Regions from separate parts of the Homo sapiens genome. Here region 1 is linked to region 2. The links are contacts of gene promoters, found by promoter capture Hi-C in human tissues and cell types (Jung and others, 2019). All regions are on one chromosome and are shown on one strand. The core of a region is centred on a gene start or on the middle of the fragment in contact, and the rest is flanking DNA. Distances in the headings are between cores, read along the strand shown. Region 1 has its middle 12 kb from the start of UNC5A. Region 2 holds the start of HK3 (hexokinase 3).

What was found. The method cuts DNA at HindIII sites, captures the fragments that hold promoters and counts their contacts. A contact is called where the count stands out against the background at its distance.
Region 1: a fragment that was not itself captured here is called in contact with the fragment with the promoter of HK3 in region 2 in 4 of the 25 tissues and cell types used here (H1 embryonic stem cells, bladder, mesendoderm cells and 1 more).

What each region holds. Positions count from the first base shown.
Region 1 is chr5:176,797,395-176,800,365 of GRCh38, reverse strand. No RefSeq gene overlaps it. Among named protein-coding and RNA genes, the nearest start is that of UNC5A, 12 kb to the left of the region's middle. RefSeq lists an enhancer at 1,262-2,208. The HindIII fragment of the contact is 8,487 bases long and covers 1-2,971 here.
Region 2 is chr5:176,897,825-176,900,679 of GRCh38, reverse strand. HK3 (hexokinase 3) reads left to right here and starts at 1,334. Exons shown (of 19, transcript NM_002115.3): 1 at 1,334-1,413. RefSeq lists an enhancer at 13-514. The HindIII fragment of the contact is 11,300 bases long and covers 1-2,855 here.

The sequences.
Region 1 (2,971 bases), core at 204-2,703, 100 kb after region 2:
ACACACACACATTCACACACGCAAACACACCCAGGGTCATACGTGCGTGCACACACATATACACACACACACACCTGGACATGTACACACACATGCGGGGATACACATGCTCCCAGGCACACACACACACACAGGCCACACCTGGACACAGCCCACGCACTAGCACACCCCACACACAAATGAATAGAAAGTCTCTCTCACACATATGCAAACACACACACTCTCTTCTTCACCCTCCCACACAATCATCAAGAGACTCCAGTAACACTGCATTAGTGAAGAGGAGACTAGGTTAAGATTTTAATAAGCTTTTAAATAAACAAATATACCTTTACCAGGACACCATGTTTTTTATTAATGTGACATCTTGGCCTTATGTTTCTTGAGAATAGAGGAGCCACACAGCCGTCTTCACACATGGCCACCCGTGCATGCGTGTGGGTGTAGAGTTGTTTTTGAGATGAGTGTGTGTGCTGTTCATGGCTGTGAAGGAGACACACGTCTCCATGCAGGTGTGTGCGTGCAGGGATCTTCTAAGTGTGTGCTGAGTGTGCGTGTCACGGGCAACAGCTCAGGAAGAAGCAGTGTGTGTGTGTTGTGTGTGTATGCTCATTGTATGTGTGTGTGCTCGTGTGTGTGTGCTCATGTGTATGTGTGTGCATGCTCATGTGTATGTGTGCTTGTGTGTGCGCTCGTGTGTGTGCATGCATATGTATCTGTGTGTGCTCGTGTGTATGTGTGCTTGTGTGTGCGTGCTCGTGTGTGTGCTCGTGTGTGTGTGCACACATGTGCTATGACTCTGGGGTCCTTAGGCAGACATTGTCAATTCCCAGAGCACTCAGTCTTTCAATTCTCCCTGTTCACCATCGTATTCCTTACTTTTGCCAACACAGTGCACACTCCAGGAATATGTGCTGAACGAGTGAATGAACAGACGAATGTAATTTAAGTATCTCAGTTTCTGTTCTCTTCATTAAACCTCATAAATTGCCCTGTGACTTAGATACCATCCTGCTCATTTTACAGATGAGGAGACTGAGGCTTGGAGAATTTGAAGCAGCACCTCCACCATCGCCATCCACGTCTTCTACCTCCCAGGCTTGCACAGGGCACACTGGCTACCCTGCGGACCCCTGGGAGACCCAAGCAGGGTGGCCCGGGCTCTGCCTTCTCTGAGGTGGGGTCAGCCCTGCTCAGGTCGTTGCAGGAGGGCTGCTGAAGAGGCAGCCTTGTTGGAATCCGGCGCCCATGGCAAGACTCTCTTGTGAGGTTTCCGACAATCCCTGCCCACATTTTCCTCCGCTCCTTCCTGGTGCCACCAGACTCCTGGCCCTCAATGTCTGCTGCCCTGGCCCCTTGAGAGTCCGCTGGAGCCTAGCGCAGAGCAGATGGGCGATGTTCACCCAGAGCAGCCATTCTGACTCTGTCCCTCGGGTCTGGTACATACTGTGTGCCAAGGTTAATTAAACCGGTAATTAGAAGGAGAGATGCTTAATCTATCTGGTTAGTAAAATAACCCCCCTCGCATGAGCTTGCGGACGCCGTCACTCTCCGGGCGGAAGCGGAGATGCCGCAGCCCCGACATCGTGGATCAGCCAAGCAGAACGCTGCTTGCTGTCTGTGGGCCTGGCTCCTGCCCCGCGCGGCTCCCCGAGTCCTGGAACCAATTCCTGGGCCCACCTCAGCCACTTCAGGGTGGGATCTTGGAGGGAGCTTCAAGCGAGGTCAAGCCGGGGAGATAGCTGGGGGTGTCCAATCCCAGAGAAGGCGCCGCGGTGACAGGCGGCACCACAGGTTTGTCCCCCAGGCACCAGGCCCAGGGCAGTGGCTCAGCACCCCGGGGGTCTCGCCCGCGGCCGGGACCCTCTCCTGTCCTTTCCTCACTCTCCTTTCCCTTCCTTCAAGGGGAGCTCTGACCCTCGCACTCTAAATTATATCCTTGGTGAATATCTTTAAAAATTAATTTTTAATCCTACATATAAAACATGAATACATTATTTTGTGTTTTTAAAAAAGACTGCACATCACCCCGCCTCACATCCTTGGTTTTTCCAGGGAGAAAGCCGCTGGCGGAGTCTGCTGCACGGCCTCCTGGGCCTTTCCCTCCATGGGTGCAGGTCTATATGTTGGCATCAGTCACTAGATTTTTTACTATCTGGTCTCTTGCTGTATGCTTCCTTCAGCGGTGTGTCTTTCCCCCTCACTAACCACATGATGAGCTGATGTTTTCTTCAGGTACATTTCATCGAGATGGAATTTTTCTGGATGAAGAGAGGAGCCTTCCCCGCCCTCAGGACCCCACGCCGGGAACGTCTTGGAACCTGTATCAGGGCACCCCCTGAAAGTGGACCCTCAGCCCCAGGGGTCCACCCTGCCCCACCCCAGGCTTGCCGCCACTGCCCAAACACTGCCCCAGCCCCTATTCCCCCTGTGCCTGGAGTGGGTCAGGGTGACAGCAGGCCCCTTCCCTCCTCCATCGCGGAGACACCGCAGCTCACAGAGGACAGCTCTCTGTGTGCGAGGCTGCCTCAGCCCCACTGTAGCGGCCGCCTCCTGCCAGCCTCACAGGCCCCCAACAGGGTCTGGCTCAGGTGCAGGGTCTTCAAAGAGACAGGCCACCTCCCACTTCCCACCTCAAAGGACAGCCTGGAGGGACAGGGCCTGAGTGACAACTGCTCCCTGGGGGCTGCTCACCTGCACGGCCGCCCCGCTCTCTCTCAGCTCCTGGCAACAGTGAGAGCAGACCCAGCTGATGGGCAGCAGCCGCAGGCGAGGGCGGACGTGTGCGGGTGTAGGGGAACGGGTTTTATTAACCTCGTAATGATCCACTTAATGGGCTTTGAAGTCGGGCGCATCCAGCAGCTAGAGCAGGTGGCCCCGAGGCCACAGGGTGTGAGCTGGTGGGACGTGGGAGTCTGGAGGGTCTTTAGCTACCAGAGCTCCACACCAGTTCCCAATCTAAAGGGAATAA
Region 2 (2,855 bases), core at 85-2,584:
TCACAGACCTCAAGCTCAGCCATCCTTCTCCCTCCACTGGCCTTGACCCAGACTTTCCCTGGCATTCTGACTAGGGAACCAGGACCCCTGCTCCTGGGGTCTGGACACAGACCTTCCAGAAACGCAGATGAAGAGCCCTGGCCATGCTTGTCAGGGGCATATCCTCACCCTGGCTCAAGAAATGGCAGGCTATCTGCATGAATCACAGCTGGGCCTTTCATAGTCAGTTCCACATTCTCCTCTCCCAACTGAACAAAGTTGAAAGGGACTGGGATCCCAGGCTAGGCAGGATGCTGTGTTGTTTGTGACAGCCACTCTACCCTCTGCCACCCCATCCCCCACTTCCCTGCCTTTCACAGCCTATATGCCTGGTTGGTACCCAGTAAACTTCACAGCAGGACTGATGTTTGGCATGTTTCCTGGCCTCTTCATGCCACTACTGATAGAGGAGCCACTATCTCTGGTCTCCATCCTGATGTCATGTGGAGGCCTACTATCTGTGGATAGAGTTACTGCTGACAAGGCAGCCTGAAGCTTTAAAGTGTATCCATGCCTTCAACAAAGATTGTTGCAGGCTGTCTAGTATTCTACATTGGTGCCCCAAGGTTCTGTGCCTTTGAGGAGAAATTCCCACAGAAAAACAGCTTGTTCGCCAATAGCTCCACAGCAGCCTAACACTCCCCTTCTTCCAGTAGAGAAGACCTAAGATGTGAACCTACTCTCCCTGCGCAGGCTACAGACTAAAGGCTAGACTCCGCAGTCTGCCTGTCACCTCCTCTCCCACTATATATTCCTACCTTGGTGTACCCTCTTCAGGCGCCTGGAGCTGCACCTCATTGCTGTGTGTGTGTGATTTGTGGTTGTGCACATGCTCTCCACTTTGTCAAGGACCACTTTTGTCAGCATACTGCTGTTCTTTCTTCAAGACTCAGCTTCTTCAGCTAGCCCTGCCCACTCTCGGCAGAGTCAGTCCCTTCCGCTTGTGCTCCCACATTGCCTCTTGCTCAAAAGTACTTACCATAACCTTTCCAGGCTAGGCGCCTCCAGCTCCTTCTAGGGGCGAGCCACCACCTCAGAACTCACTATATTTGCAAAATAAACAGCCCTCAGCATTGTAGAGGGAATGGCCCAAAATCTTAGACCCAGTTCAACGCTCCACTTCGCGGTAATCATCTTGCTCAAGTTTTCACCACAGCCTTGCCTAGCCTGGGCTACTCTTAGGGCAGGCTTGGAAGGAAGTGCAGCTTCCTGAATTAGCTGATGTTTGGTAAGTGGTGGTGGAGGAAAAGGGTGGGGCTTGAGGATATTATAACTCGGGTCACCCCTGAGTGTTGCTTTTGGTCATTGGGGTGCCTCATATTGCCAGACAAGAGCTCAGACCTGAGGAGAGTGACTAGCTTCTCTGTGTCCCAGGTAAGCACTTCGGTCTAATTACTGCCTGCTCCTTCCACAGCTGTCTTGTCCTCATCCCTCCTGTTTGGCTCACACCAGGGGAAGTGGACACTGGAAAGATTAAGCCAGCTGGTTCTCTTTCTTTGTTTTTGAGATGGGGTCTCTCTCTCTATCACCCAGACTGGAGTACAGTGGCACAGTCAGGGCTCACTCCAGCCTTGACCTCCTGGGTTCAAGTGATCCTCCCACCTCAGCCTCCGGAGTAGCTGAGACTACAGGCGCACACCACCACACCCAGCTAATTTTTGTTATTTTTTTCTAGCGATGGCGTTTTGCCATGTTGCCCAGGCTAGTCTCACATTCCTGGGCTCAAGCAGTCTGTCTGCCTCAGCCTCCCAAAGTGCTGGGATTACAGGTGCAAGCCACCACACCCAGCCTGCCAGCTGGTTCTCGATGGCAGCTCCCAACATCAGTAGAGGTCCCTGGGGTACTTTTCAGGAGGAAAACTCACTTCGTGTAGCCCATTCAGCTAAGGGAAGCCACGGGGCCCTTAGGCAAACAGACCCTGGGCTCTGGGGATACTGCAGTGAAGGAGACATGTCCCTCCCCACAGGGAATCTCAGTGGGAAGAGACAGAGCTGAATACATTTACCTAGCATATAAATATTAGGGCTACTTGGGGATTGCTTCACAGATTCTGTCATGTAAAAATGCTGAATAAATATTGAATGGATGAGGGAATGAATGAGTGAGTGAATGAATAAATGAACTAGCTGGGCCTTGAGAAAGACACGTGTGTAGCCCTTAGTCCTTTTCGAAGGTAATTGCCCCAGTTACCTCATTTTATCCTTGAAATAGACCTGCAGCATAGAACAAGAATTCCACACCCCTATTTGACAGATTTGGAAACTCAGCATAGGTATGTATGGTTTGGGGAGATTTATCAGAAGCTGATTTGTTGCTTTATTAAATAAAAAACTACCCACTCCCCTTGCTTCCAATTTTGGAAAGGCACATTAGCACATACCTATACCAGACCCTGTGCCGGCCATGAGTGCAGAGGTGATCAAGTTGGGTGGGGTAAGGAGGTGAAGAAACTAGAAGCAGAGCTATCAGTTTAGGAGGCTGTTGTAATAATCAGGCCGGAGGATGGTCTGGTGCAGTGTGTGGGAATGGGGAGGAGGGGATGCAGAGGAGAGCTCTTAGAGAGCCTGAGATCCAATTGCATAGAGGAGGTGAGGGTGAGGGATGCGCGCAGGCAGCCCGAACGGCCGTGTGAGTGAGCACACTTCGATGTCTCCAGTCAAGGTGGAGAACAGAAGAGCTTTGTGGGGGTAAGGTGATGGAAAAATGAGTATGGCTTTGTTGAATTTGAGGAGCTTCTCCACCATCCAGATAGTGATGTCTAACAGACCACTGGGATTTAGGATTTGGCTGAGGCCAAAGGTAGATTTGGGAGCCCT